Regions from separate parts of the Homo sapiens genome. Here regions 1, 3, 4, 5, 6 and 7 are each linked to region 2. Evidence: promoter capture Hi-C in 16 types of primary human blood cells and fetal thymus (Javierre and others, 2016). All regions are on one chromosome and are shown on one strand. The core of a region is centred on a gene start or on the middle of the fragment in contact, and the rest is flanking DNA. Distances in the headings are between cores, read along the strand shown. Region 1 overlaps CCDC26 (CCDC26 long non-coding RNA). Region 2 holds the start of CASC11 (cancer susceptibility 11). Region 3 overlaps CCDC26 (CCDC26 long non-coding RNA). Region 4 overlaps CCDC26 (CCDC26 long non-coding RNA). Region 5 overlaps CCDC26 (CCDC26 long non-coding RNA). Region 6 overlaps CCDC26 (CCDC26 long non-coding RNA). Region 7 has its middle 8.5 kb from the start of CCDC26.

What was found. Contacts are between HindIII fragments. The CHiCAGO score rates a contact against its expected background, and 5 or more counts as called.
Region 1: a contact is called between a fragment that was not itself captured here and the fragment with the promoter of CASC11 in region 2, in 1 of 17 cell types (neutrophils). The highest score is 8.9, in neutrophils.
Region 3: a fragment that was not itself captured here is called in contact with the fragment with the promoter of CASC11 in region 2 in 1 of 17 cell types (neutrophils); the score reaches 6.4 in neutrophils.
Region 4: a contact is called between a fragment that was not itself captured here and the fragment with the promoter of CASC11 in region 2, in 4 of 17 cell types (megakaryocytes, erythroblasts, neutrophils and 1 more). The highest score is 28.6, in megakaryocytes.
Region 5: a fragment that was not itself captured here is called in contact with the fragment with the promoter of CASC11 in region 2 in 5 of 17 cell types (monocytes, neutrophils, fetal thymus and 2 more); the score reaches 14.1 in monocytes.
Region 6: a fragment that was not itself captured here is called in contact with the fragment with the promoter of CASC11 in region 2 in 3 of 17 cell types (neutrophils, erythroblasts and megakaryocytes); the score reaches 7.2 in neutrophils.
Region 7: a contact is called between a fragment that was not itself captured here and the fragment with the promoter of CASC11 in region 2, in 9 of 17 cell types (erythroblasts, megakaryocytes, neutrophils and 6 more). The highest score is 31.7, in erythroblasts.

What each region holds. Positions count from the first base shown.
Region 1 is chr8:129,643,560-129,647,176 of GRCh38, forward strand. The region is part of intron 1 of CCDC26 (CCDC26 long non-coding RNA); the gene reads right to left. Among named protein-coding and RNA genes, the nearest start is that of CCDC26, 35 kb to the right of the region's middle. The HindIII fragment of the contact is 9,204 bases long and covers 1-3,617 here.
Region 2 is chr8:127,732,246-127,735,785 of GRCh38, forward strand. CASC11 (cancer susceptibility 11) reads right to left here and starts at 1,722. Exons shown (of 4, transcript NR_117102.1): 1 at 1,580-1,722. It also overlaps a transcript of MYC not described here. RefSeq lists an enhancer at 391-892, a cis regulatory region at 472-3,214 and a silencer at 1,797-1,916. The HindIII fragment of the contact is 10,989 bases long and covers 1,500-3,540 here.
Region 3 is chr8:129,603,548-129,607,126 of GRCh38, forward strand. All of the region lies in intron 1 of CCDC26 (CCDC26 long non-coding RNA), which reads right to left. Among named protein-coding and RNA genes, the nearest start is that of CCDC26, 75 kb to the right of the region's middle. RefSeq lists silencers at 162-362, 199-387. The HindIII fragment of the contact is 6,206 bases long and covers 1-3,579 here.
Region 4 is chr8:129,583,498-129,586,971 of GRCh38, forward strand. All of the region lies in intron 1 of CCDC26 (CCDC26 long non-coding RNA), which reads right to left. Among named protein-coding and RNA genes, the nearest start is that of CCDC26, 95 kb to the right of the region's middle. RefSeq lists enhancers at 1-300, 3,227-3,474. The HindIII fragment of the contact is 5,873 bases long and covers 1-3,474 here.
Region 5 is chr8:129,667,758-129,671,321 of GRCh38, forward strand. The region is part of intron 1 of CCDC26 (CCDC26 long non-coding RNA); the gene reads right to left. Among named protein-coding and RNA genes, the nearest start is that of CCDC26, 11 kb to the right of the region's middle. The HindIII fragment of the contact is 6,843 bases long and covers 1-3,564 here.
Region 6 is chr8:129,623,935-129,627,358 of GRCh38, forward strand. All of the region lies in intron 1 of CCDC26 (CCDC26 long non-coding RNA), which reads right to left. Among named protein-coding and RNA genes, the nearest start is that of CCDC26, 55 kb to the right of the region's middle. The HindIII fragment of the contact is 2,410 bases long and covers 434-2,843 here.
Region 7 is chr8:129,687,009-129,690,462 of GRCh38, forward strand. No RefSeq gene overlaps it. Among named protein-coding and RNA genes, the nearest start is that of CCDC26, 8.5 kb to the left of the region's middle. RefSeq lists an enhancer at 1,352-3,454 and a cis regulatory region at 2,352-2,686. The HindIII fragment of the contact is 1,486 bases long and covers 1,231-2,716 here.

The sequences.
Region 1 (3,617 bases), core at 1,064-3,563, 1.9 Mb after region 2:
AGACTTAGTATGAAACCAGGCAGAAAATGGAAAGAGATCATGTCTTTGGCAACAGCACTATCTGAGACTAAAGTTTTATCTCTGAACTGTTCAGTTTGTTTGCTTTCCTTGTTATTTTTAATACAATGCACCCTTACTGACACTAAAACCACTAATCAAATAAAATCATACATGGAGCAACAGATGGGAGAGTGGTCCTGAGTAATTTCCTCACCTCCAGCTGGTGTTTACACTTGCCCTTCTAGGCCAGTGGATGTGTGATGTACAATAGTATCCAATAGCTTAGAAGATCAAGAAGGTCAGATGAAAGTGAAGATGTAGGTCTGAGTGAATTTCCATGCTCACTAGCTTGTCCTTGTGCATCCTTGGAGAACCTGGCTAGATCAAACACAGTTTACCCCTACAACCAAACTTTAGGGTTCACTGGAGAAGCTAATCAATCTCTCATCATGTTGCAGATCCAGATGACTCCCCTACTCCCCAGCTCTTTCCCAAAAATCACTCTATTGCTAAAGCAGGCCATGCAAGTTAGGTATCTTTCTCCCTAATTGCAGCTCAAGTTAAGTATCTTTCTCCCTAATTGCAGCTGCAACAAAGGCAATTTTGACAGAATGAACTAAAAATGAGAAATTTAGGAATTGTGGAAATGAGCAAAACTCTTAAGTGGCTGTCATTTTTTAAAATTTTTAATTTAAAAAATCCCAGAGCATAACAGGGGTGGGGGTAGGAGAAGATTGAGCAACAGCTGTCATCTGGAAATCTGATATAGGGTAATGTAATCAGGTTGGATTTGCAAAGTCCATTTAGTTTGCAACAGGAAATAGAACTTTTCAAGCCCACATCACTAAGTTCAGGAATATGTCATCTTCTGGATGGGAACCGAGGCTTCCAGCCACAATCACTTCATTCAGTGAGCTTTGATATAGATCTGATTATTTAGGGGGTTTCTTTGGTGGGCCAGAGCAGGCAGGCCATCCTCCAAAGTAGACATTGACCCCCGCCTCCCCCAACTCCCAGCTAGCCCATACCATGTAATCATGCTAGGAAAGTACAGGGATGATGCAATGAATTCCAACAGGATAGGGGAGGAACAAGAAAGAAAAACACGCAAACCCCAAATCTTTTCTAAGTCAGTACAGCAACTGGAGGATTTAACATGAAATTCCTATCCATGGGACCATGGCCAAACCAGGAGACAGCATAATTACAGGAGATAAGACTCGGAATAGAATAAATGAGAAGCATCATCACAAAGCTACAGATTTCACAGGAAATGAAGATGACACACACAGTGGAGTTTCTATGATCAGGAGAATCCGTCAGGATTAAAGTATGTATACTTGTAAGGATCTTCATTACCATAATATTTAAATTTATATAAATATATGCATATGAATTCATGTTCGCTAGTTCTATTTAATTCAACAAACATGTAGATTGAGCCTACTAAGTGGAAGGCATTGAGGTAAGCCCTGGGAATAGAACAAGGTTTTTCAGCCTCAGCACTATTGACATTTTGAATCAGATAATTCTTTCTTGGGGGCAGGGTGGGAGTGATCACTGTCCTATGCATTATAGGATTTTTAGCAGAATCCCTGGCCTCAACACACTAAATAGCAACACTCCCCCACAAGTTGAGACAAACAAAACTATCTACAGAAATTACTAAATGTCCCCCATAAGTGGGGGACACAAAATCATCACTGAGAACCACTGGAGTAGAGAAGTAGTTAAGACAATTATAACAGTTTAATGTGTTTACTCTGGGATTAAACGATCTGTGTTTGCTTCCTGACTCTGCCACATATTGGCTTTGTAACCCAGGGAAAGTCATTTAATATATTTCTAATTTCAGTATCCTCATACATAAAATGGAAATAACATGACAGAAAGCCAAGTAGAATTGTTATGAGGATTAATGGGAAGATTAGCATGAGGGCTACTAGGCAATAGAGACCAATCTTTCTGTCTTTTGACACCATACCAGGGCCAGTTTAAGAATGCAATAAATGGTAGCTGCTATTTCCAATGAGCTCACAGTGTAATGCAAAACAATAACAGAAAGTACACAGTTAATTTTCTTTATTATTTTATTATACTTTAAGTTCTAGGGTACATGTGCACAACATGCAGGTTTGTTACATAGGTATACATGTGCCATGTTAGTTTGCTGCACCCATCAACTTGTCATTTACATTAGGTATTTCTCCTAATGCTATCCCTCCCCCAGCCCCCCGCAAAAGGCCCTGGTGTATGATGTTGCCCACCCTGTGTCCATGTGTTCTTGTTGTTCAACTCCCACCTATGAGTGAGAACATGCAGTGTTTGATTTTCTATCCCTGTGATAGTTTGCTGAGAATGATGGTTTCCAACTTCATCCATGTCCTTGCAAAGGACATAAACTCATCCTTTTTTATGGCTGCATAGTATTCCATGGTGTATATGTGCCACATTTTGTTTATCCAGTCTATCACTGATGGACATTTGAGTTGGTTCCAGGTCTTTGCTATTGTGGATAGTGCCACAATAAACATACATGTGCATGTGTCTTTATAGTAGAATGATTTATAATCCTTTGGGTATATACCCAGTAATGGGATAGCGGAGTCAAATGGTATTTCTAGTTCTAGGTCCTTGAGGAATTGCCACACTGTCTTCCACAATGGTTGAACTAATTTACACTCCCACCAACAGTGTAAAAGCGTTCCTATTTCTTCACTTCCTCTCAAGCATCTGTTGTTTCCTGACTTTTTAATGATCGCCATTCTAACTGGAATGAGATGCTATCTCATTGTGGTTTTGATTTGCATTTCTCTGATGACCAGTGATGATGAGCATTTTTTCATATGTCTGTTGGCTGCATAAATGTCTTCTTCACGGAATTGGAAAAAACTAATTTAAAGTTCATATGGAACCAAAAAAGAGCCCACATAGCCAAGACAATCCTAAGCAAAAAGAACAAAGCTGGAGGCATCAAGCTACCTGACTTTGAACTATACTACAAGGCTACAGTAACCAAAACAGTGTGGTACTGGTACACAACAGATATATAGACAAGTAGAACAGAACAGAGGCCTCAGAAATAACACCACACATCTACAACCACCTGATCTTTGACAAACCTGACAAAAACAAGCACTGGGGAAAGGATTCCCTATTTAATAAATGGTGCTGGGAAAACTGGCTATCCATACGTAGAAAGCTGAAACTGGATCCCTTCCTTACACCATATACAAAAATTAACTCAAGATGGATTAAAGCCTTAAATTTAAGACCTAACACCATAAAAATCCTAGAAGAAAACCTAGGCAATACCATTCAGGACATAGGCAAGGGCAAAGACTTCATGAGTTAAACACCAAAAGTATTGGGGGAACCCGCCCCCGGTATTTCAACGTAGGTTCTTTCTATTTTCCATAAGTGTTGGCTGGCTGAGAAATAAAGAGAGACAGTATAAAGAGAGGAATTTTACAGCTGGGCCACCAGGGGTGACATCACATATCAGTAGGACCGTGATGTCCCTGAGTCTCAGACCAGCAAGTTTTTTATTAAGGTTTTCAAAAAGGGAGGGGGTATAAGAACAGAGAGTAGGTACAAAGATCACATGCTTCAAGGAG
Region 2 (3,540 bases), core at 472-2,971:
CTTTTCTTTCTTTCTTCTTCTTCTTTTCTTTTTTTTTTTTTCTTTTTTTTTTTTTAGAGATGGCACGTCACCACATTGCCCAGGCTGTTGTCGAACTCCTGGCCTCAAACGATGCTCCCACTTGAGCCTCCCAAAGTGCTGGGACTACAAGCATAAGCCACCACACACGGCCTTTTCCTTTCTTTTTCTATTTCTCAATGGATTTTTCCAATGGACACGTATCACTTTGGTAGTTATACATGATACTAGTTGTAATCTCAGCCATTTTTCAACCCAGCAAATGTCTATTCTAGGTCAAATATGTCTCAAAAATTACTAAAAGAAAATCAGTTATGTCCTTTAACCTGGCTGAGGTCTGGCTTTGTTTTCTCTCATGTAAAAATGGAGATGGCACAAAACAACTCCAAGCTGTTACTTGAAAGTAACACCTCAGGTGATGTCACCAGCCTGAGGGAGAGTGAGGTTAAGTTCTGAACCCACAGGCATTATATCTGCCTGGGGTTCACATGCCCTACACTGGACTGGCATAATTTGAGAGTCAGATCCGAAGATGTGGTATATCCGCCATCTTTAGCAACTTTCAAAAACTACCCTATGAGGTCAAGCTGGACCTACTTTTGGTTTTGCCATTGTTGTTTGTTTGTTGTTGAGGGTTTTCTTTGAGGGGCGGGGAGTGCATGCCCCTGTGGAGAGCACTCATTTAGCTTCAATTAGAGTAATGCCAAAAGTGCCAGATTCCTGGGAAATCAGCCTACAAGGCTCCTGCGGGAAGGAACCTCCACTGCCAGAAGTCCTTAGGGCATCTAAGTGATCAGACACCGTCAGGGATTCTTTGCCCCGTAAAAACCTACTTGACCAGGGACACGTGCCAGGTAAATTTCCTTCACATTTACTTCAACCTTATTGCATACTCATTTTAGTATTAAAACCTTTAATAAAATGCTCCTATTCCTTCACACTTTTTTTCTATGAGATCTCAAATACCCCTTCTTGCTATTAAAAAAAATCACTTATTATTCACCAGCCCAATATTTTAAAAGTAAAAATAATAAGCCAAGGCCAGGAGCGATGACTCGCACTTGTATTCCCAGCAGTTTCAGAGGCAAAGGCCGAAGGATCGCTTTAACCGAGGAGTTTGAGACCAGCCTGGGCAACATGACCAGACTGCCTCTCTACAAAAAGTTTAAAAAATTAACCGGGTGTGGTGGTGCACTGCACTCCCAGCTACTGGGCTGGGGTATCAGGCTGAGGTAGGAGGTTTGCTTTGAGCCCGGGGGGATCGAGGCTGCAGTGAGCTTTGATTGTGCCACTGCACTCCAGCCTGGGTGACAGAAGGAGACCCTGTCTCAAAAATAATAAGAATAATAATTAATAATAATAGGCCAAACCAAATACCCATCACCTTCTGCTGTGCCTCCCCTTTCCCCAATAAATCCAGTGTCTTGCTTTCAAATTTTGTGGTTAAAAAAGATGATGAGTTTCTAAGACGTGGGGGCTAAAGCTTGTTTGGCCGTTTTAGGGTTTGTTGGAATTTTTTTTTCGTCTATGTACTTGTGAATTATTTCACGTTTGCCATTACCGGTTCTCCATAGGGTGATGTTCATTAGCAGTGGTGATAGGTTAATTTTCACCATCTCTTATGCGGTTGAATAGTCACCTCTGAACCACTTTTTCCTCCAGTAACTCCTCTTTCTTCGGACCTTCTGCAGCCAACCTGAAAGAATAACAAGGAGGTGGCTGGAAACTTGTTTTAAGGAACCGCCTGTCCTTCCCCCGCTGGAAACCTTGCACCTCGGACGCTCCTGCTCCTGCCCCCACCTGACCCCCGCCCTCGTTGACATCCAGGCGCGATGATCTCTGCTGCCAGTAGAGGGCACACTTACTTTACTTTCGCAAACCTGAACGCGGGTGCTGCCCAGAGAGGGGGCGGAGGGAAAGACGCTTTGCAGCAAAATCCAGCATAGCGATTGGTTGCTCCCCGCGTTTGCGGCAAAGGCCTGGAGGCAGGAGTAATTTGCAATCCTTAAAGCTGAATTGTGCAGTGCATCGGATTTGGAAGCTACTATATTCACTTAACACTTGAACGCTGAGCTGCAAACTCAACGGGTAATAACCCATCTTGAACAGCGTACATGCTATACACGCACCCCTTTCCCCCGAATTGTTTTCTCTTTTGGAGGTGGTGGAGGGAGAGAAAAGTTTACTTAAAATGCCTTTGGGTGAGGGACCAAGGATGAGAAGAATGTTTTTTGTTTTTCATGCCGTGGAATAACACAAAATAAAAAATCCCGAGGGAATATACATTATATATTAAATATAGATCATTTCAGGGAGCAAACAAATCATGTGTGGGGCTGGGCAACTAGCTAAGTCGAAGCGTAAATAAAATGTGAATACACGTTTGCGGGTTACATACAGTGCACTTTCACTAGTATTCAGAAAAAATTGTGAGTCAGTGAACTAGGAAATTAATGCCTGGAAGGCAGCCAAATTTTAATTAGCTCAAGACTCCCCCCCCCCCAAAAAAAGGCACGGAAGTAATACTCCTCTCCTCTTCTTTGATCAGAATCGATGCATTTTTTGTGCATGACCGCATTTCCAATAATAAAAGGGGAAAGAGGACCTGGAAAGGAATTAAACGTCCGGTTTGTCCGGGGAGGAAAGAGTTAACGGTTTTTTTCACAAGGGTCTCTGCTGACTCCCCCGGCTCGGTCCACAAGCTCTCCACTTGCCCCTTTTAGGAAGTCCGGTCCCGCGGTTCGGGTACCCCCTGCCCCTCCCATATTCTCCCGTCTAGCACCTTTGATTTCTCCCAAACCCGGCAGCCCGAGACTGTTGCAAACCGGCGCCACAGGGCGCAAAGGGGATTTGTCTCTTCTGAAACCTGGCTGAGAAATTGGGAACTCCGTGTGGGAGGCGTGGGGGTGGGACGGTGGGGTACAGACTGGCAGAGAGCAGGCAACCTCCCTCTCGCCCTAGCCCAGCTCTGGAACAGGCAGACACATCTCAGGGCTAAACAGACGCCTCCCGCACGGGGCCCCACGGAAGCCTGAGCAGGCGGGGCAGGAGGGGCGGTATCTGCTGCTTTGGCAGCAAATTGGGGGACTCAGTCTGGGTGGAAGGTATCCAATCCAGATAGCTGTGCATACATAATGCATAATACATGACTCCCCCCAACAAATGCAATGGGAGTTTATTCATAACGCGCTCTCCAAGTATACGTGGCAATGCGTTGCTGGGTTATTTTAATCATTCTAGGCATCGTTTTCCTCCTTATGCCTCTATCATTCCTCCCTATCTACACTAACATCCCACGCTCTGAACGCGCGCCCATTAATACCCTTCTTTCCTCCACTCTCCCTGGGACTCTTGATCAAAGCGCGGCCCTTTCCCCAGCCTTAGCGAGGCGCCCTGCAGCCTGGTACGCGCGTGGCGTGGCGGTGGGCGCGCAGTGCGTTCTCGGTGTGGAGGGCAGCTGTTCCGCCTGCGATGATTTATACTCACAGGACAAGGATGCGGTTTGTCAAACAGTACTGCTAC
Region 3 (3,579 bases), core at 616-3,115, 1.9 Mb after region 2:
TGGCCTTGGACAGCTCTGCTCCTGTGGGTTTGCAGGGTACAGCCCCACTCCCAGCTGCTTTCATGGCTGACATTGAGTGTCTGTGGCTTTTCCAGGCACACAGTCCAAGCTGTCAATGGATCTACCATTCTGGGGTCTAGAGGATGGTGGCCCTCTTCTCACAGCTCCACTAGGCAGTGCCCCACTGGGGACTCTGTGTGGGAGCTCCAACCTCACATTTCCCTTCCACACTGCCCTAGCAGAGGTTCTCTGTGAGGGCTCCACCACTGCAGCAGACTTCTGCCTGGACATCCAGGCATTTCCATACATCTTCTGAAATCTAGGAGGAAGTTCCCAAACCTCAATTCTTTACTTCTGTGCACCCACAGGCTCAACACCACATGGAAGCCACCAAGGCTTGGGGCTTGCACTCTCTGAAGTAATGGCCCAAACTGTATGTACCTCGGCTCCTTTTAGCCACAGCTGGAGGTGAAACAGCTGGGATGCAGGACACCATGCCCCAAGGCTGCACAGAGCAGGGTGGCCCTGGGCATGGCCCAGTAAACCACTTTTCCCTCTGTGGCCTGTAATGGGAGGGGCTGCTGTGAAGGTCTCTGACATGCCCTGGAGACATTTTCCCCATTGTCTTGGTGATGAACATTTGGCTCCCCATTACCTATGCAAATTTCCTCAGCTGGCTTGAATTTCTCCCCAGAAAATCTGGTTTTCTTTTCTATCACATTATCAGGTGGCAAATTTTCCAAACTTTTAAGCTCTGCTTCCTCTTGAATGCTTTCCCACTTAGAAATTTCTTCCTCCAGATATCCTAAATCATCTATCTCAAGTTCAAAGTTCCACAGATCTCTAGGGCAAGGTCAAAATGCCACCAGTCTCTTTTCTAAAGCATCACAAGTGTCACCTTTATTCCAGTCCCCAACAAGTTTCTCATCTCCATCTGAGCCTGGGCTAAGATGAGGTGAGATGAGATGAGGAACTTGTTGGGAACTGAGACCATCTCAGCCTGGACTTCATTGTCCATATCACTATCAGCATTTTGGTCAAAGCCATTCAACAAGTCTCTAGGAAGTTCCAAACTTTTCCACATTTTCCTGTCTTCTTCTGAGCCCTCCAAACTGTTCCAACCTCTGCCTGTTACCCAGTTCCAAAGTCGCTTCCACATTTTCAGGTATCTTTACAGGAGTGCCCCTCTACTCCTGGTACCAACTTACTGTATTAGCCCATTCTCACACTGCTATAAATAACTGTCCAAGACTGGGTAATTTAAAAAGGAAAGAAGTTTACTTGACTCACAGTTCTGCATGGTTGGGGAGGCCTCAGGAAACTTACAATCATAGCAGAGGGGGAAGCAAACACATCCCTCTACACAAGGCAGCAGGAGACACAAGAGCCAAGCAAGGGGGAAAAGCCCCTTATAAAACCACCAAATCTCATGATAACTCACTCACTATCATGAGAACATCAGCATGGAGGTAACTGCCCCATGATTCAATTACCTCCATCAGGTCCCTCCCACGATATGTGGGGATTATGGAAACTACAATTCAAGATGAGATTTGGGTGGGGACACAGCTAAACCATATCAAATAACAATATTAAACATCTTATCATGTGCTTATTGGCTATTTGTAGATCTTTTTTTAAAGAAATGTCTATTCAAGTCCTTTGCTTATTTTTTAATTGAGTTGTTTGGGGTTTTCTTTGTTTTATCTATATCTTCTTGGGTCAGTTTCAGTAGGTTGTGACTTTCTAGGAATTTGTCAATTTCATGCAAATTGTATAATTTATTGGAATACAATACTTTTTTATTTCTAGAAGGTCAAAAGTAATATCTTCTCTTTTATTTCTTTTTTTTATATACTTTAAGTTTTAGGTTACATGTGCACAACGTGCAGGTTTGTTACCTATGTATACATGTGCCATATTGGTGTGCTGCACCCATTAACTCATCATTTAGCATTAGGTATATCTTCTAATGCTATCCCTCCCCTCTCCCCCAACCCCACAACAGTCTGCAGTGTGTGATGTTCCCCTCCCTGTGTTCATGTGTTCTCATTGTTCAATTCCCACCTATAAGTGAGAACATGCGGTGTTTGGTTTTTTGTCCTTGCGATAGTTTGCTGAGAATGATGGTTTCCAGCTTCATCCATGTCCCTACAAAGGACATGAACTCATCATTTTTTATGGCTGCATAGTATTCCATGGTGTATATGTGCCACATTTTCTTAATCCAGCCTATCATTGTTGGACATTTGGCTTGGTTCCAAGTCTTTGCTATTGTGAGTAGTGCCGCAATAAACATAGATGTGCATGTGTCTTTATAGCAGCATGATTTATAGTCCTTTGGGTATATACCCAGCAATGGAATGGCTGGGTCAAATGGTATTTCTAGTTCTAGATCCCTGAGGAATCGCCACACCAACTTCCACAATGGTTGAACTAGTTTACAGTCCCACCAACAGTGTAAAAGTGTTCCTATTTCTCCACATCCTCTCCAGCACCTGTTGTTTCCTGACTTTTTAATGATTGCCATTCTAACTGGTGTGAGATGGTATCTCATTGTGGTTTTGATTTGCATTTCTCTGATGGCCAGTGATGGTGAGCATTTTTTCATGTGTTTTTTGGCTGCATAAATGTCTTCTTTTGAGAAGTGTCTGTTCATATCCTTTGCCCACTTTTTGATGGGGTTGTTTGTTTTTTTCTTGTAAATTTGTTTGAGTACATTGTAGATTCTGGATATTAGCCCTTTGTCAGATGAGTAGGTTGCAAAAATTTTCTCCCATTCTGTAGGTTGCCTGTTCACTCTGACGGTGGTTTCTCTTTTATTTCTAATTCTAGTAATTTGAATTTTCACTAATTTTTTGGTCAATTTAGCTAAATATTTATTAATTCTGTTAATGTGTTTAAAGAACTAGCTACTCTGTTGTTTGGTTTCTATAAATTTGTGAGTTTCTCAAATATAAGAAAATCTTTTATTGATTTCTAATTTCATTTCATTACAGTTAAGGAAGACAGGTTTTATTATTTCTATACTTTCAAATTTATTGAGGTTTGTTTTATAGCCTGCCATAGGATGCATCCTTCACTTGAAAAGAAGATATATTCTGCTGTTGTTAGGTGGAGTGCTCTACAGGATTCTGTGCAGTCTAGCGGGTTTATCATGTTGTTAAATTCTTCACTTTCTTTGTTGATCTTCTGCTACTTGTTCCATCCATTACCAAAAGTGTGATATGGAAGTCCCCAACTATTGTTTTTAATTATCTATTTCTTCTTTCATTTCTGTCAGATTATACTTCATGTATTTTGCTGCTTTCTTGTTAGATACATATATGTTTATAATGGTTACATCTTTCTGATGAATTGAACTTTTGATTATCATAAAATATCCCTCTATATCTCCAGTAAAGTTTTTTGTTTTAAGGTCTATTTTGTCTGATGAACACACCAGCTCTCTTGTCATCACTGTGTACATGACATATCTTTTTTCATCCATTTACTTTCCATTTATTTTATTTATTCTTTTGATTTTTCAGAAAGAGTCTATTCTGTTGCCCAGGCAGAAGTGCGATGGTGTGATCTTGG
Region 4 (3,474 bases), core at 607-3,106, 1.9 Mb after region 2:
ACCCTCCAAATATAGCAGAGCTAACTGCCTACACCGGACCCTGGTGCCATTAGCTCATGCTCTAGCTCCCTGCACTGGCCACCCATACTGCTTTATGAAATGCAATCTCTTTTTAAAGATAATGACACAGTAAGTGTGTTATGACTTCAGTGATACAGTAAGTTAGGCAAATTCTTTGAAAGCTATCAGCTCATTTTGAGCAGGGCCACCAGCCTCTGGTAGAGAGAAGTTTGTTGATCTGAAGTCATAAAACCAAGGGGTAAAGGACATGCTGAACCAGACGATAAACACCGTCATGGCGGGTGTCCCTCCCACTGCCAAATTCCAACAAATCATAGCAAGAAGATGAGGTTACATAGCAGAAATGCATGGAAATCAGCCTGATCAGAATCATTGACCTTTGAATTTTAGAGCAAAACAGTCATTTAGAGATTGGCCAGTCTTCATGTCAACCTGTTCAACCTTTCAACACAGATTCAAATCCAATTGGCAGATGTGTTTTGTTTAAACTGCACAGCATTAAAAAAATTTATGTAGCTGCCAATATTTATAATAAATCAGGATATCTCGCATGCACAGAATTGTATTTCTTGCTTCTCTTTTAAAATATGAATATCTATCAACACCACATCTGCATTCCAGTATGGCTGGAGCTAAATAGTAGTTGTCCCTATGGACTGGGCAGGTGGTCACCATATCACCCCAACTCCTGCCACTCACTATTACTTATTTCTGGCCCATTTCACTTATTATAGCTCTAACGTTGTCAAGCCCTCACTTGACCTAATATCCTCTTATACAAAAAGTAGAAAACTGAGGCCTAAATGAAGTGAAATAATGGAATCTTGAGTCAAAGATCAGTCACCCCCAGAAATGTGTGAACCTAAAAATAAAAACCTCACAGGAATTAAATTTGCATAGGCCAGTCCCTCCTCCTAACATAACCTGGTGGCCAAGCCTCCATAATACTCTGGGGCCAGGCTCTTGGTTATGTTTTAGAATTATTTTTAATTTAACTTTTGTTCTTGTTCACTCAGTGTCCCACAGTAAGGTGCACTGGGGGCTAAAGGCTTGAAAAAGCAAACAGAGTTAGGGGCCCTAAGTTTCTTCTCAAGAGTTCAGATGGAAATCATAAAACCACCACACCAGGTTCCAGATGAGTTCCACTGGAAGCTGGCAAAAACCTCCCGCCCAGCCTGGTTAATGGCACTTAAGCACTGGATTGTTTGACTGCCACTCTCCCTTACTGGAATTGTTAGAATAATCTCTCTCTCTCTCTCTCCCTCCCTGCCTCCCGTTTTTTTTTTTTCTTTTTTTTCTTTGAGACAGAATTTCACTGTCTGGAGTGCAGCAGCACGATCTCGGCTCACTGCAACCTCCGCCTCCCAGGTTCAAGCGATTCTCCTGCTTCAGCCTCCCAAGTAGCTGGGATTACAGGTGCCCACCACCACGCCCAGCCAGAACAACCACTCTTTAGGACCTGGACATACCTGCCACTCTCTGTGCCCTTTCCACTTGGTAAATGCCACCATCTCCCTCTCAGACATGCAAAGATCCAGGCTATTCTGTTATTTGCCCTTCCTCACCCTCCGCAGCAAAGCTCTTGCTCTTATTGCATCGTTTTCTGCCTTTCCCAGGGGAATTTCCATCATTAGGCTTTGCTATAACAGGGGAAGAGTTCCATGAATGAACAAGAAGGTAAGGAAATGATTTAGAAGATCAGAATGCTTTCCTACTCTTTTATTCATCCATTCATTGTTTCAGTATTGAGCGCCTGCTGGGTTGGGCGTTTAGAAGATCTAAATGTAACTAACATACCTGCCCTGCTCTCAGGGAGCTCACAAAGTCAAATCCTGATTATACAGTGTAACATAAGTGATGATTGAGGGGACTTTCTTGGGCCTCAGATTCCTCATTTGTAACAGAAGAACCCCACTTACTTCCACATAGTCTGGCTGTGAAGAACAAATGAGAAAAATGGATGTTAACATTCTTTATAAATGACAAAGCACAATGTTAGCACCTGATCGCGATCTCATATTAGGTGTGCTCAAGGATTTGAACCATTGTGGAGAGGTCCTTTAAGTAAATAAATGTGGAAGTAGGGAAATCTCCTTACAGCAAAAAGCTAACAAACGAACGTGGAAAGGATGATGGAAATAGAAAACAACAATTTGGCAAACTTCAAAATAGTAATCAATTCAGGATAAGAATCATCAATGATGATAAAACTAGTAGCTTAAAGTATGAGGAGTAACAGAAATTTCACATAATAAAGTACCTCTTAAGATACTTATTAATTACAAAGGGAAAGGTTGGAAAACGCCTTTACGGCAGCATTTACTGTAACTGGCAGACACCATCTTCACCAAATAAAGTCAACATCACTAATAATGAGGGAAATTGACATCATGTGCAGCCTGATAATAATGAATGAAAAAGGACATAACATCACTTCTATGATATTCCAGCTGAAAATGTATGACCTGAATCTAACCATGAGGAGATACTGGAGAATCTCAGATTAAGAAACATTCTGCAAAAATCTCACCAGTACTTTTCTAAAATGTCATTGTCATAAAAGACAGAAAACTGTTCCAGATTTAAAAAGATGAGACACTAATAAAGTCAATGTGTGATCCAGTGTTTTCTTTTACCATATAGCATAAAACTGGAACAATTGGTGAAATTCAACTGAGGTCTGTAGATTAGGTAATAGTTTTGTATTAATGTTAATTTCCCAGTTTTGATGATTAACAATAGTGCTTATGTAACAAAATGCATTTTCAGAAAGTACACATCGAAGTCTTTAGGGATAAAGAACATTATGTCTATACATTTCAAATAATTCAGGAAAAAATATGGCATTATATGAAAATATATGGTATCATATAAAAATATATGGCATATATAATAGATGGTACATATATATTAAATTAAGTAAAGTTGGTAAATTATTAACACGAGGGAAACTCCTTGTACTATTCTGCCAATGTTTTAAAAAGTCTGAAATTTTGTCAAAATAAAAAGTTAAAAGCAGTAGCAAGAAAGAGGTACAATGTGGATAACTTTAATCAGCCCAGAACCAACACAAAGCATAGCGAAGAGGTTTGGCTGCACTTTCCAGAAACTCCAGATGCCAAACATGTTTCACCCATTTTTTTATCCCTGTCTTCCAGGCTTCTGATATTCATGACAAGATGGGAGATGATACTAAATGGGCCCATTTCTTCAGTGATGGTTTCCCATAACTAAGCAGTGTCGTTAGAACCACCTATATTATTGCCGAGCCAGCTGGAGTCTTAAAAGTTTATTTCCTAGAACACATAGTCCACATAATCTCTTCCATTACTGCTGGAAGGCAGCAGGGTACCTCTCCTGTAGTGCCTCATGCCACCACAAATAGATCATGCAGAAATCAGGTGGCAATGGGGTCTCTCCTGCTATTTGCACCATATGATGGCTGTTTGTTGT
Region 5 (3,564 bases), core at 832-3,331, 1.9 Mb after region 2:
ATATCAACAGAATAAAGAGAAAAAACACAACCAACTCTACTGATACAGAAAAAGCATTTGACAAATGTCAAAACCTCCTCATGATAAAAAAAGAAGTCAACAAACTGGAAATAAAAGGAAATTCATCAAGCAGATAAAGAACATCTACGAAAAACCTACTCTAACATCATACATAATAAGACTAAGTGTTTAATGTGGAAAAATAAAAATCCCTTAACATCTACCTAACACTATTCACAAAAATTAACTTGAAATGAATTATATACCTAAATATAACCACTAAAATTATAAAGAACATAGGAGAGAGAATCTGTGGCATTGATTGGGTTAGGCAAAGATAGCTTATGCGCAAGAAAATGAAGCATAAAGAAAAACCTAATACGTTAGATTCCATTAATATTTAAAAACTTCCATATTTCAAAGACATCATTGAGAAAATACCTGGAAAATCCTCGAAGAAAACTTCACAACACATATATCTGATGATGAATTTGTATTCAGAATATAGAAGGAAATTGCAACTCAGTAATAAGCAAAATAGCTAAACCAAAAAAAGAACAAAACATTTGAATAAGCATTTCACAAAGTCTACAAATGGCCAATAAGTATTTTTTAATGCCCAAAAGTATTAGTTATCATGGAAAAGCAAATTATGATCACAATAAGATACTACTACACATCTGATATGGTTTGGCTGTGTCCCCACCCAAATCTTATCTTGAATTGTAGCTCCCATAATTCCCACATGTTGAAGGAAGGACCTGATGGGAGATCATTCAATCATGGGGGTGGCCCCCCCATACTGTTCTCATGAGAGTGAGTAAGTCTCATGAGATCTGATGGTTTTATAAGGGATTTCCCCTTTCACTTGGCTCTCATTCTCTCTCTTGTCTGCTGCCATGTAAGACGTGCCTTTTGCTTTCCACCATAACTGTGAGGCCTTCCCAGCCACATGGAACTGTGAGTCCATTAAACCTCTTTTTCTTTATAAATTGCCCAGTTTCGGGTATGTCTTTATCAGCAGCATGAGAACAGACTAATACAGTAAATTGGTACCAGGTAGTGGGGCACTGTTGTAAAGATACCTAAAAATGTGGAAGCGACTTTGGAACTGGGTAACAGGCAGAGGGGTTGGAACAGTCTCAAGGGCTCAGAAGACAGGAAGATGTGGGAAAGTTTGGAACTTCCTAGAGACTTGTATGGTTTTGACCAAAATGCTGATAATGATATGGACAATTAAATCCAGGCTGAGGTGGTCTCACATGGAGATGAGGAACTTGTTGGGAACTGGAATAAAGGTGACTCTTGCTATGTTTTAGCAGAGAGACTAGTGGACTTTTATCCCTGCCCTAGAGATTTGTGAAACTTTGAACTTGAGGGAGATGATTTAGAGTATCTGGCAGAAGAAATTTCTAAGCAGCAAAGCATTCAAGAGGTGACTTGGGTGCTGTTAAAGGCAACCAGTTTTAGAAGGGAAACACAGCAGAAAGGTTTGGAAAATTTGCAGCCCGATGATGTGATAGAAAAGAAAAAGCTATTTTCTGAGGAGAAATTCAAGCCAGCTGCAGAAATTTGCATACGTAACAAGGAGCCAAATGTTAATCACCAAGACAATGGGGAAAATATCTCAACAGCATGTCAGAGACCTATGTGGAAATCCCTCCCATTACAGGGCTGGAGGCCTAGGAGGAAAAAATGGTTTCATGGGTCAGGCCCAGGGTCCCCCTGCTGTGTGCAGCCCAGGGACTTGATGCCCTGCATCCCAGCCACTCTAGCCATGGCTAAAAGGAGCCATGATACAACTCAGGCCATGGCTTCAGATGGTGCAAGGCCCAAGCCTTGGCAGTTTCCATGTGGTGTTGAGCCTGCAGGTGCACAGAAGTCAAGAACTGGGGTTTGGGAACCTCCGCCTAGATTTCAGAGGATGTATGGAATTGCCTGGATGTCCAAGCAGAAGTTTGCCCCAGGGTCAGAGCCCTCATGGAGAACCTCTGCTAGGGCAATGTGGAAGGGAAATGTGGGGTTGAAGCCCCCACACAGAGTGCCCAGTGGAGCTCTGAGAAGAGGGCCACAATCCTCCAGACCCCAGAATGGTAGATCCACTGCAGCATGTGCTGCAGACACTCAACACCAGCCCGTGAAGGAAGCTGGGAGGCAGGCTGTATCTTGCAAAGCCACAGGCATGGAGCATGGAGCTGCCCAAGGATGTAAACACCTACCTCTTGCATCAGTGTGCCCTGGATATGAGACATGGAGTCAAAGGAGATCATTTTGGAACTTTAAGATTTGACTGCCCCACTGGATTTCAGACTTGCACGAAGGCTTTAGCCCTTTCATTTTGGCCCATTTCTCCCATTTGGAATGGATGTATTTATCCAATGCCTGTACCCTCCATTGTACTTGGGAAGTAACTAACTTGCTCTTCATTTTACAGGCTTATAGGTGGAAGGGACTTGTCTTGTCTCAGATGAGACTTTGGACCGTGGACTTCTGAGTTAATGCTGAAATGAGTTAGGACTTTGGGGGACTGATGGAAAGGCATGATTGGTTTTGAAATGTGAAGACATGAGATTTAGGAGGGGCTGGGGCAGAATGACATGGTTTGGCTCTGTGTCCCCACCCAAATCTCATCTTGAATTGTAGCTCCCATAATTCCCACATGTTGTGGGAGGGACCAGTTGGGAGATAATTGAATCATGGGGACAGTTCCTCCCTACTGTTCTCGTGGTAGTGAATAAGTCTCATGAGATCTGACGGTTTTATAAGGGATTTCCCTTTTCACTTGGCTCTCATTCTTTCTTGCCTGCTGCCACGTAAGATGTGCCTTTTGCCTTCCACCAAGATTATGAGGCCTTCCCAGCCACATGGAACTATGAGTCCATTAAACCCCTTTTACTTTATAAATTACCCAGTCTTGGGTATGTATTTATCAGCAGCATGAAAATGGACTAATACAACATCCATTAGAACGTCTAAAATTGGGCTAGGCATGGTGGTGCATGCCTGTAGTCCCAGCTTCTTGGGAGGCTGTAGTAGGAGTTCAAGGCTGCAGTGAGATATGATTACTTCACTATACTCCAGCCTGGGTGACAGAGCAAGAATCCATCTCTTTAAAAAAAAAATTTATCTAAAATTAACAAGGCTGACAATATGAGTGCTGGCAAGGAAGTAACTGATATTCTTGCACATTGTTGGTGAGAATGTAAAATGATACAAACAGTTTGGAGAACTGCTTGGCACTTTCTTGTAAAGCTAAACATACACTTATCATATAATCTGGCAGTTTCATCATATAATCTAGCAGTTTTATTCTTAGATATTTACCTAAGAAAAATGAAAACATGTCCACACAAAGACTTCTGCCTTGGAGTTAATATCACCTCTATTTATAATAGGCAAAAACTGAAAAGAACCCAAATGTCCATCAATACATGAATGAATCAACACATAGCAATAACAAGGAATAAACTATTGCAACAAAATGGAATAATCTCCAAAACAGTATTCTAAGCAAGAGAAGCCAAACATGAAAGAATTTGTACTGTATGATTTTATTAATATGAA
Region 6 (3,424 bases), core at 389-2,888, 1.9 Mb after region 2:
TTTCTAATTATAGCCATTCTGACTTGTGTGAGATGGTCTCTCATGGTTTTAATTTGCATTTCTCCAATGACTAGTGATGTTGAGCATTTTTTTGTGTTCTTGGCCATTTGTATGTCTTCTTTTGAGAAGTATGTGTTCATGTCCTTTGCCCATTTTTCAATGGGGTTGCTTTTTACTTGTTCAATTGTTTAAGTTCCAAATATTAGACCTTTGTCAGATGTCAAGTTTGTGAATATTTTCTCCTATTATGTAGGTTGCCTGTTTACTCTGTTGATAGTTTTTTGTTTTTTGTTCTTTGGGGGTTTTTTTGCTATAAAGAAGCTCTTTAGTTTAATTAGGCCTCACTTGTCAATTTTTGTTTTTGTTGCAATGGCTTTTGAGGACTTAGTCATAAATTCTTTCCCAAGGCTGATGTCCAGCATGGTGTTTTCTAAGCTTTCCTTCAGGATTCTTGCAGTTCGAGGTCTTACATTTAAATCTTTAATTCGTCTTTTGTTAAATTTTGTATATGGTGAAAGGGGGAGTCCTTTCCCCACTGCTTATTTTTGCCAATTTTGCTGAAGGTCAGATGGCTGTAGGTGTACAGATTTATTTCTGGCTTGTCTATTCTGTTCCATTGGTCTATCCATCTGTTTTTATACCAGTACTGTGCTGCTTTGGTTACTGTTGCCTTTACCATAGTTTGAAGTGGGATAATGTGATGCCCTCAACTTTATTCTTTTTGCTTAGGATTGCTTTGCTCTTTTTTGGTTCATATGAATGTTACAATAGTTTCTTCTAATTCTGTGAAAAATGACATTTGGTAGTTTGATAGAAACAGTGTTGAATCTGTAGATTGCTTTGGGCAGTATAGCCATTTAATGATAGGGAGTCTAACAATGTTTTTCCATTTGTTTCTGTCATCTACAATTTCTTTCATCAGTGTTATGTAGTTCTTGTAGAGAACTTTCACTTTCTTGGCTGGATGTATTTCTAATATTTTTGCAGCTATTTTAAATGGGATTGCATTCTTGATTTGGCACTCAGCTTGAAAGTAATTGATGTATAGAAATGCTACTGACTTTTGTACGTTAATTTTGTACCCCAAAACTTTACTGAAGTTGTTTATCAGTTCCAGGAGCTTCTTGGCAGAGTCTGTAGGGTTTTTTCTGGTATTGCATTGTATCATCAGTAGAGAGAGCTCAACTTCTTCTTTTCCTATTTGGATGCCTTTTATTTCTTTTTCTTGCCTGATTGCTCTGGCTGGGACTTCCACATTCCTTGATTAGGATTTTAATTTCATCCTGCATCCAAAATCTTACCCATATTGATAACTTAAGGAGTACTGAGGAGTATTGGTAATTTTAAGTAGGCAAGTCTTTGCCCTTGCAAAATGCATTTAATCTGTTCTTTATATGGGTATATGTGACCCACATATAGCAACAATATTATGAAGAATCTGAGGTTTAGAGTGGTTAATTAACCTGCCTAAGACCACAGCCAATAAGAGACAGAATTAGAAATTGAATGCATATCTGTTTCACTTCCCTATACTTCTATACTTTTCTGGATTCCCCAGTATTGTATTATATATCAAACAGATTGTATTTGCAAATATAAGCAAAAGAACACAGTCTTTCTTTTTCTTTTATTTTTTTTTTTTTTGAGACAGAGTCTCACTCTGTTGTCCAGGCTGCAGTGCTGTGGCACGATCTCAGCTCACTGCAACTTCCACCTCCCAGGTTCAAGCGATTCTCCTGCCTCAGCCTCCCTAGTAGCTGCGATTACAGGCACACACCACCATACCCAGCTGATTTTTGTATTTTTAATAGAGATGGGGTTTCACCGTGTTGGCCTGGCTGGTCTTGAACTCCTGACCTGAGGTGATCCACCCACCTCGGCCTCCCAAAGTGCTGGGATTACAGGTGTGAGCCACTGCACCCAGCCCAGTCTGTCTTTTTCTAATCTGTCTAATCCTGGCAGTCAAGCTGCAAGCAGGAGCTGCAGTCATCTGACGGCTCAACTCGGTCTGGAAGATCCTCTTCCAAGGTTCACTCACATGGAAAGCAGTTGGTGCTTGTTGTCAGCCAGGTTGGCTGAGTTTTCCCCCATGTCAGCTCTTATCCTCCTGGGCCTTCTGCTGCATTTGGCCTCTCCTTCAGAACAACCTGGACTTCTTTACATGGCAGCTGTATTCCAATAGAGTAAGAGCTAGACAACCTATCAACATGTGAGAAAGAGCACCCAAGACAGAGGCCACAGTCTTTTTATAACCCAATATTGGAGGTGAGATCCCATCACTTTTGCAGTGCTGAATTCATTGCAAGTGAGTCGATAAGTCCATCCTACACTCAAGAGGAGGAGATTATACAGGATGATGAATATTAAGAGGTGAAGATTACTGGGCACTTCCTCAAGGCTGTCTACCAGAAATATATAATTACAAATCAACAAAAACCAGATATAAAATTTAACAAAAAATAAGACAAGAAAGATGCAGGTGCTTTAGAGAAGAATAAACTGGAATGGTTAATACACATGAAACAATACCTAACCTCACTCACACTTAAAGAAATGCACTTTAAAACATTAAGATGCCAGTTTTCCCTTATAATATCAGCAAATATTAAAAAGTCTGATAGCACCCAGTATTGATGAGCATGTGAGGAAACAGCTATTTGCTGTAGAGGCTATTTACTGTCAGAAGACAATTTGGCAATATCTCTCAAAAATAATAATGTACATACCATTTAACCAAGAAATACTGCTTCCTGAAATATACTATACAGATATGTTTGCAAATAAATACACATAATAATATTCACTGATGCAAATTTTAATAGACAATTACTGAAAACAAAAGAAGCTTGGTGAAATACATCACAGAAAGCTATGCAGCTGTTTAGAAGAGAGAGTCAGATTTTTACAGGCTGATAATAAAGAGCTCTTTGTTACTTTATTAAATGAAGCATAAGGGACAGAGGATAATTTATAATATGATTTATTTTGAAAAGAAGAAAACATATGGACATTTATATATACAGAAGTCTTTCTGAAGGATATGTAAGAAAAATGTAACAGCACTTCATTCTGGAGAGAAGAATAATCATTTTTACAAGGGTTAATTTTTTAACAGGATGAATTTAATTATTATATAATTTAAAATACTAATTGGAAAAATTGAAGTCTTAACTATAGTCGATATACTAAAAAAAAAAAAAACCCAGCAGGCTGACAATGAACCTGATTTGACAGAGAAGCATCAGCCGAGGCTTAGGGAAAGGGAAAGAAAGGAAAAGAATACTGATTTAGTCATCACCCACTAAGCTCCAGGCACTTTTGCTTATGTCACCTCGCACCACCTACAGTACACTGTAACCGCAGAGAATGACACACTGGCCTCTGACTACCCTACAAAATTCCCTTCCCTGCAAAAGTTGATTCC
Region 7 (3,454 bases), core at 724-3,223, 2.0 Mb after region 2:
AATCCAAGTAAAAGAGCATGATTGTCCTCTATTTCATGTTATTCTCACAGTTACAATATGTGCTTACATCTGCTGGTGCAAAATATGATTAACTTTTTTTTTCTAAAACCCTAGGGCTAGGAGGAGCTTGGAAATTCTATCTTTTACTTCCCCTTGCCTTCAGACCGATCCCTGTATGTCAACAAAACATGAAAACACCCTGTGAAATCCATTAGTAGCCTCACTTTATATACTAGGAAATCGAGGCAGGGTGATGGATCTGAAGTCCCTCAAGCAGATTGTGGCTAGAGCAAGAAGGGAAGCATGGACCTGGGTCTCTCAGAGGAATCCCTGTCTTCCCATACAGCCTTTTTCCATAGCATCTATGCACTAACTATAAGCTATCGACCCTATAAAGGTCCACGGACATATGAGAACATTATCTTCTTCCAGGCATTCAGTTTCATTTATCCGACATTTCCTGCACTATCCTAAAGATATAGAGGCAGGTAGATTAATTCACTATGCCCTAGAAGTCCTGGTCAAGGTCTCAGAATCAAGAACTACCTCTCTAACAGACAGGCATTGAGCACCCTCTGTAGGCAAGGCAGAGTCTTGCAAGCTGGCACCAATGATTGTCCTGCATCTGCCTGGTCCACATACTCCCTGGACGTCTGTGTGACAGGCTCTGTAGAAGACAAGCATAAAGCAGACCTGAGGGTGAGTCCCAGCCCAGCTCTGCCACTCACCAGCGGTGTGGCCATGGGCAGGTTACCTCCATGGACTAGACCTGGGCTTTCTCATCTTTAAGTTGGTGTTAATAACAAGTTGGGGTTAAATGCTGTCCCTCACTCAATACCTGTGTCCACATCTTAATCCTTAGGACCTCTGAACGTGACCATATTTGATAAAAAGGTCTTGGCAGATGTAATTATGTAAAGGTTCTTGAGATGAGATCATCCTATATTATCTAGGTTGTCTCTAAATCCAGTGACAAATGTCCTTATGACCGCAGAAAGACAGACACCAGGAGAAGAAGAAAAGTCCACGCAAAGAAAGATGAAGGTAGAGGTAGGAGTTATCCAGCCACAAGCCACAGAATGCCTGGAACCTCCCTAAGCTGAAAGAGGCTAAGACAAAGTCCCCTCTAGAGCCATCAGAGTGAGTGTGGCCCTGCCAGCACCTTGAGTTTGTACTCTGGCCTCCAGGACTCTAAGCAAAAAAATTTCTGGGGGATTTTTTAAGCCATGAAGCTTTGTGGTCATTTGTTAAAACAGCCCTAGGAAACTAGTATCCACCTATTTCATGGTATGTTAAGCATGGAACCTATTCCAGAGTAAGTACTTCATCATATTATTGGTGTTATTCTTGCCCTTGCCATGCTCCAAGTTAACTTAAGACCCCTTTTATTCTGACGATACCTCCTGGAGACCACCCACCCATCCAAAGCTCCAGAATCAAGGTTTTAGTATTTTGATTTGGGGTTGCCTATTTGTTAGGAGGAGGGGCTGCACATACCTATTTCCTATTTTTCAAAATAATAGCCCCAAATTTTGATTCAAGTGAAGCTGGATAGACCCTGAAGGGTGTATTTGTTAAAAATTTCACAGCTCATTCTGACACAAAACTGGTACTGATATTCAACCAATGCACACTGACCAGCATCCTCTCTGATTTGTCTGGGACTTGGTCCTTTGGTGAAATATTTGCCCTCTCTCCGCACACCAGCACTGCTCTCCCATCACCACTGACCTGGGGAAAATCAGCCAAGCTGACTGGTAGGCCCAGAACACAAAGCTGGGGACAAAGCTAGTCCAGAGGGCTTAAAATGTGTTGGGGAAGCCAGGTTTGCATGAACATGTCCCGGGGAACAGAACAGGCATGGCAGCATGGAATGACAGGAAGGACCTGGGCACAGGCCCCTGGTGGCCCAAACTCCTCCATACAGGACTGTTCTTTTTATCTGTTGTATCAACTGGGAATATGCATACAATTCTTTTTGGAAAAAAAAGTTCTAAAGCATTCTGATGATTTTTTAAATAATTAAAAATTTAAAACCACTGATAAGACATACTTATTTTCTAGGCAAGAAACTGGGTTCCAAAGAGATTAAGTGACATGCCCAGGATCACACAGTGAGGAACTGATGGCCAAGACCAGAATCTTGAACTCTGGGTCTTATCCAGGGCCCGTCAACTCCACCAGTAGCAGCCTCAGCCACCAGCCCCACCACTGAGGCCTCAAAGCACTGATTTCTCAGGCTCCAGTGCCTCTCTCTAGGTGCAGTAGCCCCCACATCCCTCAGAAGGTCCATGCCTGGCAGGGAAGAGGATGCCTGGGCAATGCTGTCAGCCTCTCCTTTGGGAATGGCCTTGGTCTCGGTCTGCACCAAGGCAGCCCAGTTTCTAGGCCATTGCTGCCAGAGGCGGTGTCGTTGCTTGGGAAATCTTCCTGCTGATCAGAACTTCCTCTCCACTGTACCTTTTTCCCTCCTTAGAGCCAACATCCAGGCCTTATCTCAGATGAGGAAATGTTTAGGGCACAGGACCGTTGAGATATTTCTCAGAACACAAATTACGAGGCACATGTTTTCACAGAGAAGAAAATAAGGAGAAGACACACAGTGATCACCATGCTGGTTCTGAGAACAAGCCCTTATCTGCTCTGACCCAGCTCTGGACTCACAGGCTGGTGTCAGCCTCACAACTGGTCAATGAGGCAGCCAGGAAAAGTCCAAAGCTTTAGGTGGGGGAGTCCATCGCCCAAAGGCAAAGGTGCAAAAAATAAACACTTAAGAGAGAGCTGCAGCCTCAAAGCCCTGGGCTGTACCAGGCCGACATACCACAGCAAAAAGCCTATGAAGTCCTACAAAATGTAAGCACCTCACCAAGCTGCTAGCATGGAGGGATTGCACATTAAAACTCTGGTCACGTTACAAATGTCTGTGCAGGGTCTTCCCGCCAGGAAACCCCAATGCAGTGAGGAGGATACTATGCATGTTTAAAAAACTAAGCAGTCATAAGATTACAGTAATCATTCCAAGCAGGACAAAAAGAAAGAAAAGATGAGGTGATACAAAGTACTACATGGTCAATGAATGACCAGATAAATGATGGAATCAATAATTACTAGAAGAGTTCAGAGGGAAAAGTTCAGGTAGGAAGGACTAGCTTGGCTTAATAATATCTATCATTCATTAAATACCTACTATCTGCCAGAATTTGAGAATTTTTCTTTCAATGACTTCACAAGGTCTGTGTTAAGTATCTGCACTTCACCAAGGGGAAGGCTGAAATGTGGAGAAGCCAGGTGACCTCCCACAGTAACTCAGCTGTAGGAACCAGGGTGAGTTCTGTCTCGTTCTCCTGAACAATTACCTGAGTTTCCTTAGCCATAGAGGTCCTGAGAAATTGCTTGAGTTTCCTTAGCAATAGAGGACAAGGAGAGCTTGGATAAAGCCAAAAGGAAAGAGAGG